3 separate regions of the Homo sapiens genome follow, and regions 1 and 3 are each linked to region 2. Evidence: promoter capture Hi-C in 16 types of primary human blood cells and fetal thymus (Javierre and others, 2016). All regions are on one chromosome and are shown on one strand. The core of a region is centred on a gene start or on the middle of the fragment in contact, and the rest is flanking DNA. Distances in the headings are between cores, read along the strand shown. Region 1 has its middle 17 kb from the start of GPR50-AS1. Region 2 holds the start of PRRG3 (proline rich and Gla domain 3). Region 3 has its middle 40 kb from the start of GPR50-AS1.

Region 1 (3,856 bases), core at 1,026-3,525, 500 kb after region 2:
ACTATGTACCCACAAAAATTAAAAATAAAAATTTTTTAAGTGGATGAAAGACTTAAACCTAAGACCTAAGACTATGAAACTACTAGAAGAAAACGTTGGGGAAATGCTTTAGGACATTTGCCCAGTTTAGGCAAAGATTATTTTGTAAACCTCAAAATCACAGGCAACCAAAGCAAAAATAGACAAATGGGACTACATCAAACTAAAAAACTTTTGCACTGCAAAGGAAACAATCAACTAGTGAAAAGATAACCCACAGAATGAAAGAAAATATTTGCAAACTATTCATCTGGCAAATGATTAAAAAACAAAATATAAAGAACTGAAAAACCTCAATAGTAAAATAACGATAATAATCTGATTTAAAATCAGGCAAAAAACCTAAATAAATGTTTCTCAAAAGGAGCTATATAAATGGCCAACGGGCATGTGAAAAAAATGCCCAACATCACAAATCCTTATGGAAATTCAAACCAAAACCACACGAGATATATCTTACCCCAGCTAAAATGGCTTTATCAAAAAGAGAGACAACAACAGATGCTGGTGAGGATGTGGAGAAAGGGATACCCTCATATACTGTTGGTGAATGTAAATTAGTACAGTCACTATGAAAAACTATATGGAGGTCCTTCAAAAAAAATAAAACTAGAGCTACCATATGATCCAGCAATTCCACTACTGGGTACACATCCAAAAGAAAAGAAATCAATATATTGAAGAGATATTTACACTCCCATGTTTACTGCAGCAGTATTTACGATAGCCAAAATATGGAATCAACCTAAGTGCCCATCAAAGGATGAATGGATAAGAAAATGTGGTATAGATACACAATGAAATATTATTCAGCCATAAAAAGAATGAAATCCTGTCATTTGCAGCAACATGGATGGAATTGGAGGTCATTATGTTAAGTGAAATAAGCCAAACACAAAAAGACAAATATTGCATGTTCTCATTCATATGCGGGAGCTAATAAACATGGATCTCATAAAGATAGAGGGTAGAATTGTGGTTACCAGAAGCCAGGAAGGATAGAAGGGAGGGAGGATAAAAAGAGGTTGATTAATGGGTACAAATGTACAATTTGAAAGAAGAAACAAGACCTAGTGTTTGAAAGATCAGTAGAGTGACTATAGTTTACAATGACCTATTGTATATTTCAAAATAGCTAAAAAAGAATAATTCAAATGTTTCTAAGATAAAAAAGACAAATATTTAAGGTGATGGATATCCCAATGTACTGTTTTGATCTTTACAAATTATATGAATTATTTAATTATCACATGTACTCTGAAAATATGTACAACTATTCTGTATAAGTAAAATTTTTGAAATTAAATAAAATCAGAACTACTTGTGGCTCTAAAAAAAAAAAAAAAATCTTTGCCCATTCCTATGTCCAGAATGGTATTGCCTAGGTTTTATTCTAGGGTTTTTATAGTTTTTGGTGTTACACTGAAGTCTTTAATTAATCTTGAGCTATTATAATTTTTGTTTAGGTTGTAAGGAAGGGGTCTAGTTTCAGTCTTCTAGATATGGCTAGCCAGTTGTCCCAGCACTATTTATTGAATAGGGAGTTCTTTCCCCATTGCTTATTTCTGTCGGGCTTGTCAAAGATCAGATAGTTGTAGGTGTGTCGCCTTATTTGGGGGTTCTCTATTCTGTTCCACTGATAACCCATTATTTGAAAGTGATGACAACTTAAGTCTGATTGCAAAAACAAACAAACATGCAATGATAAAACTCATAAAATTCTACATTTTAACTTCATCTCTCCTGCTTTTTAACTTTTTGTTTTTTCTATTTATATATTATTATACTTTCTACGTCTTCAAAACTTGTTCAAAACTTTTGATAGGTTCATCTTTTATTCTCTGACTCAAGATGTGAGTAGTTTACACACTACAATTATAGTGGCATAATATTCTGTATTTGTCTGTGTACTTACTGCTATCAGAGAGTGTTGTACCCTCAGATGATTGCGTATTGCTCATCAATGTCCTTTTCTTTCAGATTGAAGAACTCCCTGTAGCATTTCTTTTTTTTTTTTTTTTTACTTTAATTTTTAATTTTTGTGGGCACCTGATAGGTATATCCATGTATGGGGTATGTGAGATGTTTTGATACAGGAATACAATATGTAATAATCACATCAGAGTAAATGAGGTATCCATCACCTCAAGCATTTATCCATTCTTTGTGTTACAAACAATCCAGTTATACTCTTTTAGTTATTTTTAAATGTACCACTAAATTATTTTTCACTATAGCCCTCCTCTTGTGCTAGCAAATACTAAGTCTTATTCATTCTTTCTATTTTTTTTGTGCCCATTAACTCTCCCCACTTTCCCTCACCACCCACCACTACCCTTCCCAGCCTCTGGTAACCATCCATTTACTCTCTATCTCCATGAGTTCAATTGTTTCAAATTTTAGGTCCCCAGATTATTGAGAACATGAAATGTTTGTCTCTCTGTGCCTGGCTTATTTCACTTCATATTATGACCTCCAGTTCCATCCATGTTGTTGCAAATGACAGGATCTCATTCTTTTTTATGGCTGAATAGTACTCTACTGTATATATGTGCCACATTTTCTTTATCTATTCATCTGTTGATGGACACATTGCTTCCAAATCTTGACTATTGTGAATAGTGCTGCAATAAACATGAGAGTACAGATACATGTTTGATATACTGATTTCCTGTCTTTTGGTTATATACCTAGGAGTGAGATTGCTGGATTGCAAGGTAATTCTATTTTTAGTTTCTTGAGGGACCTCAAAACTGGTCTCCACAGTAGTTGTACTAATTTACCTTTTCACCAACAGTGTACAAGGGTTCCCTTTTCTCCATATTCTTGCCAGCACTTGTTATTGCCTGAGTTTTGGATACTTTAGCATTTCTTATAGGACTGGTCTGGTATTGATAAAATCCCTCAGCCTTTGTGTGTCTGGGAAAGTATTTCTCCTTCATGTTTCAAGGATATTTTTACTGAATATACTATTCTAGGATAAAAGATTTTTTCCTTTAGCAGTTTAAATATATCATGCCCCTCTCTCCTGGCCTATAAGGTTTCCACTGAGAAATCTACTGCCAGACATATTGAAACTCCTTTTGTGTTTGTATGTTTGTTCATTTTTACTTTTCTCTTGCTGCTTTTAGGATGCTTTCTTTATCCTTGACCTTTGGGGCCAGGCACAATGGCTCATGCCTGTAATGCCAACATTTTGGGAGGCCAAGTCAGGTGGATTCCTTGAGCCCAGGAGTTTGAGACCAGCCTGGGCAACACAGCGAAACCACATCTCTACAAAAACAAACAAAAAAAGCCCACAATATATTCTTGACCTTTGGCAGTTTGAATATTACATGTCTTGACATAGTCTTCTGGGGGTTAAATTTGTTTGGTATTCTATAACCTTCTTGCATTTGAATATTGACATTTTTCTCTAGGTTTAAAAAGTTCTCATTATTATCTCTTCAAATAATCTTTCTATTCCACTCTCTCTCTCTCTACCGCCTCTTTAAGGCCAATACTCTTAGATTTGCTCTTTTGTGGCTACTTTCTAGATCCTATAGTCATACTTTATTATTTTGTATTCTGTTTTTTTTTTATTCCTCTGACTTTGTGTTTTTAAATAGACTGTCTTCAAGCTCGCTAATTGTTTCTTCTGCTTGATCAGTTCTGCTGTTGAGAAACTCTGATGTATTCTTCAAGTTGTCAATTGAATTTTTCAGCTCCAGAATTTCTGCTTAATTTTGTTTAGTTACTTGCATCTCTTTGTTAAATTTATCTGATAGGATTTTGAATTTCTTCTCTATGTTATCTTGAATTGTGTTGAGCTTCCTCC
Region 2 (4,264 bases), core at 1,703-4,202:
AAAGGACCTCAGAGATAGATGAGGAGATACAGCCCAGAGAGACGGGCTCAGACAAGGTTAAGCAAATCAACAGTGACAGTGGCAGGACCAGAATTCACAACTAATTTTGAGCACAATGGTGAGTCACAGATACCTCCAATGACAAGCATGTTCCCTGAAAACAAAGCTTAACACAGCATCAACCATCTCAAAAGTCACTGCCCTGCTGGGACTAGCCTATAGCAACCTTCAGTGGACACATCTTCTACAGGGTCTCATCCTCCATGCACAACAATGCTGCATTCTTCATATTCCCAGGCATAATCAGAAGGCCCAAACCCAGGTGACCCGCTGTGTTCATCTTCACCAGACAAAGAGGCAAGATACCTGGAATCTTCTGGAACCAGGCCTCTCTTCTCTCTTTGCATTAAAGCCCATGGCAGTAGAGTGCCAAGACATGAATTTAGATGCCCGACACTGAGACGCTAACTACAAGAGTTGCCCCTAATGTGAGCTATTGTCAGAAAGCCTTTCTCCTGCTAAGGAGCTATCCAGCCAGTACTTAAACCATGGTCACAGCACACTGCTCCCTCTGTCCCTCCCCACAATACACACGCCCACTCATACACACATTCTAGAGCCCTTGCTGAGCTGTCCACATCTGGGAGCAATCACCCCACTGCTCCCCTCCCCAAGCAGAAGCTCTGGTTTGATGACTAACTGGATGCAAGACACGTGAACTGTGGAATCCATTGAGCCCTCCTTTTTGCCTAGGCTGCCAGGAAGTTCAGCGTCACTATTGCCAGTCAAGCACAGGCACCCTGGAAGCCCAGCTGTTAAGCACATATGCTTCTGTCCTGCGATGTGGTATACAGCTTTCTATTTATGTTTCCAGTGTCCTATTGTGCATTTATAATATGCCACCTAATCCTTTTGGCAAACAGGTAGGATATAAATCAATAATTTAGGCTGGTCGCGGTGGCTCATGCCTATAATCCCAACACTTTGGGAGGCTGAGGCGGGCGGATCACCTCAGGTCAGGAGTTTGGGACTGGCTTGACCAAAAAATGGTGAAACCCCATCTCTACTACAAATACAAAAATTAGTTAGGCATGCTGCGGTGCATGCCTGTAGTCCCAGCTACTCTGGAGGCTGAGACAGGGGAATCGCTTGAACCAGAGAGGCGGAGATTGAAGTGAGCTGAGATTGCGCCACTGCACTCCAGCCTGGGTTACAAAGCCAGAAAGAAAGAAAGAGAGAAAGAGAGAAAGAGAGGGAGAGAGGGAGAGAGGGAGGGAGAGAGGGAGGGAGGGAGGAAGGAAGGGAGGGAGGGAGGAAGGAAGGAAGGAAGGAGAAGGGAAGGGAAGGAGGAAGGAAAGAAGGAGAAGGGAAGGGGAGGGAGGAAGGAAGGAAGAAAGAAAGAAAGAGAGAAAGAAAGAGAGAAAGAGAGAAAAGAAAGAAAAGAAAATTAAAGGTAAAACAGCAGATCTGACATCTATTTGTGGAAACGCCACATCAAGGGGCTTTCTCTTTTGAACCCTGCAACAATCTCCCTCAAAACTATCAACATGTGAATTTGTCAACAGATGGCCTGCCTTGTGAGACAGTTGGCCCTCAATGTTTGTCAGAACCAAGATGGAATATGATCTCAAAATTCTGCTTGCATTATGGATACCTGAGCTTTATGTGGTGAGGGTGTGGATATAGTATGCCTCATGGCAAGGATTTTTTGCTTGAAGAAAAATGGAGCTGTTGTATCTGGGTTTGAGAAGAATGCATATAGTCTTAATAAGGGAAGAGAGAAAAATATGCTTATCAAAGGAAACTGCAGTGGTTTTTTAAAAAAATGGAGAAAAATTTACATAATAGATTACATATATCCATCTTTTGTCCCCCACACACCTAGCCTTGGTCAAAGGTGGCTATATGTCACACCTATCATAGACCCGAATACATGTTATCCTGACGCACCTGCTAAAGTCACCAGTTCATTTTTAAGCTTCAGTCGAGCCAGGAACACCCCCAAAACAGTTCCCATGGCATGGCCCACTCCATTAGCAATTCTGTAGCCACCTTCACTGCTGCTGCTGCCTGCCACGAGGCCTCTTCCCCCTCCCTCCCCAAAATGTAGCGCCTGCTTCTTCCCCTATAAATACACCATCAGTAGACAGTTACTATGGCAACAATAAGGAAGCAATCGTGAGGGCTCCACGACAAAGAATGATGCTGCAGCCACACATGTATATGTCCCCCATGCCCCTGGTGGATACTGTAAAGCTGACTGTAGGCGGAAGGAATTTTTAACCCACTCCCCGCAGGAACACAGCTGAATCCTGACAGCCTGGAAAGGAAGGAAGGCAGGGAACTGGCCACCACAAAGACCTTGCTTAACTCCACCCCAGACTGAAGCTTCTGAATCTCAGGCCTCTGGGACACAACTCCCAAAGTCCCTCACATGAAGCCTGGTGACCACCAGAGCACCTGGTGTCCCAAGACATGGCCTCCAAACCACTTCTCCAAACCCTAGACTTTATTTCCATCCCTCAGAACTGATCGCCAGGAAAGGGTTCTCCAAATCGCATGACTCATCGACCCACCCAGTGACACGACAACTCCCAAATTATGCTCAAACTCAAACTCTGGGGCCCCCTTGTCCCTTTCCACTCAGGCCAGCCCTGAAAGTGCCTGTCCTCGCCCACCTTCGCTGGACACCAGCGCCCTGACCCAGCAACACTCTTCTCCCGGAGCTGTTCAATACGCCCCATCCCCTTGGCCCGGACAGGCCTCTAGATCTTCCCTCCTCAACAATGCCCTGCACCCAGCTCGTTGGCCCTGGATACCGAACCGTGCCCTCGGGACTGGGACACCCAACCCAAATGGCCTCACCGTTCTCCGGGCCCAGAAGGCGGCCGCCCTGTTTGCGCACGCAGCCCGCCACCTCGCTGCTGCGCCTCTTCCAGCAGGGGCCCTGTCCCCGCCCACCTGCTCCCCGTCGGCCAAGCCCCCCGGTCCGGCCCAGCCGTCTCCTCCCTCCCTTCCTCCCCTCCCCGCTGCCCTCCCACCGCCCCGGGCACCCTGTCGCCCGCCCCTCCAGGGCCGAAGTGCGCCTGGAACCCCCGCCCCTCGCAGCCGGGCGCCCAGGCCCGGCCCATTACCTCGGCACCCCCCTGCCTGCCCCTGCTTTCCTCTGGGGGCTCCGCAGCTGCCCGCCCCCCACACCCCGCCGTTCCAGGGCTGGCCTCGCGCCCCGCGCCTCGCGCGCCACGACCGCAGTGCCCCGATCGCCAGGCCGCAATCGTCGCGCTGCCCCGCGCACCGGGCCGCCGGCCGCCTGGCCGAGTGGAGGAAGGAGGGGTGGGGGCGACGGAGTGGGCCGAGGGGGTTGGGAGAGCGGGCGGGCAAGCCGGGCCGGAGGGGCGGCGGCGCGCACCGAGCACCGCGCGCCCGCGCCCCACTCTGCCGGCGCCGCCCCTGCCCCCGCCCGTGCCGCCGGGGGGCGGGGCCTGACTGGCGGGCCTGGGGCACACAGAGGACCCTTGGTCAAAGCCCTGGTCCAGTCGTGACCCAAGGCGTGGGCCCTCGGAAGATACGGCGTAGCAGGGAGCTCCGGCGGCCGCTCCCAAGGCCCGCGCGCCAGGCGTCCCTGCGCAGCCCAACCCGCGTCCTGTCCCCACCCCCCGGGCTCACCTGCCATTCAGGCCCGCCGGGCTCCTGGGGCCAACGAAAAGAGAGGGGGGCTAGCCTGCAACCTAGGCCTGCCTTGCCAGGGATCCACAGGGCCCTCAGAAGAAGGACCGAGTCGAGGCCGCGTTCCGCCAATGACTGGGTGACCTTGGCTTCTTCACTTACCTACCCCCACCCTGCCCCGGGAAGGCAGGCTTCTCTCCTGCAAAGTCCGAGAAATGGGGAGAATTCTGCCTCCCTCGCGAGGCTGCAGCGATTTGAAGGAGGAAATGGGTTTGGAAAACTCTAAGGCTCAGTAAGGGGAGAAGGAATCTTCTGCGACTGCAAGGAGCGCTAGATGGGGGCTCCTTCGGAGGCCGCACTGTGAGAAGTTCAGCATGGCAGGACAAGACGCATAGCAGAGATTACACTAGTCCAGGAGGAACCACATGACAGGTCCACTGCTAAGAGAGGGGCAAAGGGGTTCCGGGTGGGCTGAGGTTCTGGGTCTAGGAAAGCCTCCCTCGGAGAAGGGGATGCTGGGTTTTTAGGGTTCCTTTTTGTTCTCTGCACATCTAGAACCCGGCCAGGCACTGGGGTTGGCGTCCTCTTCCTCCCTCCA
Region 3 (4,044 bases), core at 1,300-3,799, 480 kb after region 2:
ACATGAGTGACAAACTGGTAGAAAATATTTACGACATATAACACAGAGAAAGGACAGATCTATCTAATATATGAAGAACTCTTAAAAATCGAGGGGCAAAAGCCCAGACTTTGCCACTATGCAATATATCCATATAACAAAATCGCACTCGTACCCCTTAAATTTGTACAAATAAAAAATATTAAGGGACATACCAGGCAGGACCAGAGATAGGCAGGCAGTTCAATAAGCCTAATGTACAGAGTGGGTCAAAGTAGTGTACTATCAAGCTGGAGGTTTAGAGTATGCTTCCCTGGTTTAAGAGGAGAGATATGTTTAGATCTGCAGTTTAGAAAGAACACTCTGTTGACTTGGTGAATGTGAATTAGAAAAGCAGGGAGAGGGGTTCAGAAACTTAAAGTAATCCATCTGAGAGATAATGGTGCATCAAAATAAGGTAGTGACTATAAGGATTAAGAAAAAAGATAAAGACTTATTAAAGAGGCAGAATTTACTGGATTTATAAACCAAATTATGTGGGTAAGGTAGGAGTCCTGGATGAAACCCAGGATTTTAACATAGGCAGTGAGATAGGTGGTAGTCTTATAGAGAATGTAGAGAATGCAGGGATTTAAATTCAGTCTGGGCCGGATGCAATGGCTCACGCCTGTAATCCCAGCACTTCGGGAGGCCGAAGGGGGTAGATCACTTGAGCCCAGGAGTTCAAGACTAGCTTGGGCAACATAGTGAGATCCCGTCTCTACAAAAAAATACAAAATTAGCCAGGTGTGGTGGCATGTACCTGTAGTCCCAGCTAGTCTGGAGGTTGAGGTGGGAGAATCGCTTGAACCTGGGAGGCAGAGGTTGCAGTGAACTGTGATTGTGCCACTACACTCCAGCCTGGGTGACAGAGCAAGACCCTATCTCAAAAAAAAAAAAAAAAAAAAAATTCAATCTGAAGACTAAATATAATGGTCCATATTTGTTCAATGCTGTTCTAGGCATATAGAAAATATCTAATAAGTTTAGCTATTGCTGCTGTTCTCTTAGGCTAAACTGGTTTGATTAATCTTAATATAATTTACTATGAAATACTATGCACAGTTGATATTCAACATTCTCTAAGCAGATCTGGTTTCAAGTTGCACAACTTTCCAGCTTTGTGACTCTAGACAAGTTTCTTAACCTTTCTTGGCCTCAATCTCCTTCTTGTTAAATGGGAGTAATAATATCAACCCAGCAATGTTTTGGATAAGAAATAAGAGAAGTCAAGTGCCTGAAGTGGTGTCTGTCACATAGTAGGATCTTAATAAGTGATAAATTAAACATAAAGCAATATTATTGGTTTTAGGGGATTCTCTCTCATTTATCTTTGTATTTCCCATAGACCCCACCTGCCTAGAACGGTCTTACAGTTGATAGTAAATACTGATCAAATCTGTGGTAACTGTTTTCTGCTTGACATTTTTCTTTTATTTTTTTTCTTCTAGTCTGCCAAAGGCTGTTAATCTTCATTTTAAAAGTATCATTTAAATGGTTAGAGCAGCTTCTCCTTGCTTAATGTTTATTTTGCTTAATCTCTCTCTCTCTCTTATTTTTTTTTACTTACAAACAAACAATAACCCATGCTTCATAATACATAACACTTTCTTGTAAAATTTCTTGAGAACTCCCCCTATCTGCACTCCCAAGCCCTTATAAGAGTTTCATTCAGTAATAGAATCTCAGTCCCTATCTGGCTTGACTGTGATGAGAATTACCCAGGCTGCTGAACCTATTCCAAAATTGTTGCTGATCTCCAGAACTTCCACCAGAATTAAGAACAGTCAATTAACAACTTGGTCAAACATGTTGGATTTAATCATGGTGAATCATAGCCACTGAAAAGACATTTAATTTGATCTGAAATACTTTCACAAGAATATCAAATCTCAGGCATAATTTGTGATTAGCAACTCTATAAAAATAAAGAGTAATTGGAAATTTTAAAAGACTAAGTGTCAAAGGACCAGACACCCAAAAGTGTAACTGCCAATTCTGTTGATGAGTCTTAGGGAAATAGGCATTCTCATTGCTACTGAGAATGCAAACCGGTACAACTCTTTGAGGAGGAATTTGGCAACAGCTAACATAACCTTTCAACTCAGAAATCCCAGTTCTAAGAAACTATCCTCGAATATGAACTTTTTTTACAATTCAAAAATACATATGGCCAAAGTTATTCATTGCAGCATAGTTTGTAATTGCAAAATATTGGAAACAACTTAAATGCCTGAACATAGAAAAGTGGTTAAATAAATTATGCAACATCAGCTCAGTGGCATTCCATACAGCTGTAAAAAAAAAAAAAACAAAAAAGAATAAGGAAGATCTCTATGAACTGATGTGGAGTGGGTCCATGACATACTACCCAAATGAAAAAAATCTAAGTACAGGAGACCGCTTCTAGAATGGCAGAGTAAGGAATTCCAAAAATGTGTTTCTTAATAAAAGCAATGAAGTCTTTTTTTATGGTGAAAAAAAAAGTTTTTTTCACCATAAAAACTGTGAAAAATCAAATTTTTTAGAACTCCAGAAATTAACCTAAGGCTAGCAATAATCCACAGAGCGTTTACTCAAGAAAAAAATCACTACATCTTGGTAAGAACAGTGAGTTTCATGGTGCTTTAACTTGCCCTACTTCCATTCCTCTCCCTTAGTCCCATAGTAACCTTAAAAACCAACAGTGTCCCAATAATAGTAGCTGTGAAAATCAGTAACCTAGTAGCCACTAGAAAGGGCATAGAGGTTTACAAGCATCCAAAGGTCCCATCCCCAGAGAAATTCCAATTGTCAGCTATTCTGATTGTCCGATAACTTGCAGAAAAGTTCCATGCTCAGGAGTTGTCATTCTTTGAGCTGACTCAGAGCTTACTCTGTGTTAATAGGCTTATCCCCAAGGCATTTGTCGAAAACAATCATTGGCAATTAATATCGGAACTGCCTGAGGCTACATTATCAGTTGGGATTAATAAGAAGCTGACCAAAAAACTTGAGAGGAAAAACTGGGGAATGAGATGACCATAGAGGGCTTTAAAAAGCTCCAAAATGTTCCTGGAAATCTGGAAGACCTCACATACGCCTAAGGCTGTGCATATGCCCATGATTGTGTACATGCTTAGGAAAGATCCAAGAAGAAGAACAAAGTCAGAAGATTTACACTATCACACTTCAAGACATACCATAAAGCTACAGTGATCAAGGTAGTGTGGTATTGATGAAAGAACAGACAAATAAATGAATGAAAGAGAATGGAGAGCCCAGAAAGAGTTCCACACAAATATAGTCAACTTATTTTTGACAAAGGAGCAAAGGTAATTCAACGGAAAAAAGCATTCTTTTTAACAAATGGTGCCGGAACAACTGTACAACCACATGTAAAAAGATTTTTTAAAGCCCAAAAACAAATAAACAAAGAGCCCCACAAGAATCTAGAGACAGAATTTACACCTTTTCCCCAAATTAAATAGATATAATTAAAATAGACTATAAGTGTTAAATGTAAAATGCAAGGCTATAAAACTTCTAGAAGATAGCAAAGGAGAAAATCTGAGTGACCTTCACTTTGGTAATGACTTTAACAAAAGGTCAATCTATAAAAGAAAAAAATGATAAATTAAACTTCATTAAATTCAAAACTACTCTGTTAAGTGAACGAAAAGACAAACAACAGAGTAGGAGAAAATATTTGCAAAACATATATCTGATTAAGGACTGTATCCAAAATGTACAAAGAACTCAAAACTCAACAACAAGAAAACATACAAACCAATTTAAAAATGGGCCATAGATTTGAACAGATGCCTCATCAAAGAAGAGGTACAGATAGCAAAATAAACATATTAAAAGATGCTCAACATCATATGCCATTAGGAATTCACTTTTATTTGTAAAATAGTTTTGCAGCATATAAGTTTCTTGCTTGAACAGCCTTTTTCTTTTAGCTACAGTAGTTCTCCTTTATCTGCAAGGGATGCATTCCAAGACCCCCAGCCTGAAACTGTGGATAGTAACAAACCTTATATA

The links. Contacts are between HindIII fragments. The CHiCAGO score rates a contact against its expected background, and 5 or more counts as called.
Region 1: a contact is called between a fragment that was not itself captured here and the fragment with the promoter of PRRG3 in region 2, in 1 of 17 cell types (total CD4 T cells). The highest score is 6.0, in total CD4 T cells.
Region 3: a contact is called between a fragment that was not itself captured here and the fragment with the promoter of PRRG3 in region 2, in 1 of 17 cell types (activated CD4 T cells). The highest score is 5.4, in activated CD4 T cells.

The regions. Positions count from the first base shown.
Region 1 is chrX:151,192,658-151,196,513 of GRCh38, reverse strand. No RefSeq gene overlaps it. Among named protein-coding and RNA genes, the nearest start is that of GPR50-AS1, 17 kb to the right of the region's middle. The HindIII fragment of the contact is 8,683 bases long and covers 1-3,856 here.
Region 2 is chrX:151,694,146-151,698,409 of GRCh38, reverse strand. It overlaps PRRG3 (proline rich and Gla domain 3), which reads right to left and starts at 2,952. Exons shown (of 4, transcript NM_001372163.1): 1 at 2,866-2,952. The HindIII fragment of the contact is 4,373 bases long and covers 2,391-4,264 here.
Region 3 is chrX:151,215,628-151,219,671 of GRCh38, reverse strand. No RefSeq gene overlaps it. Among named protein-coding and RNA genes, the nearest start is that of GPR50-AS1, 40 kb to the right of the region's middle. The HindIII fragment of the contact is 5,772 bases long and covers 1-4,044 here.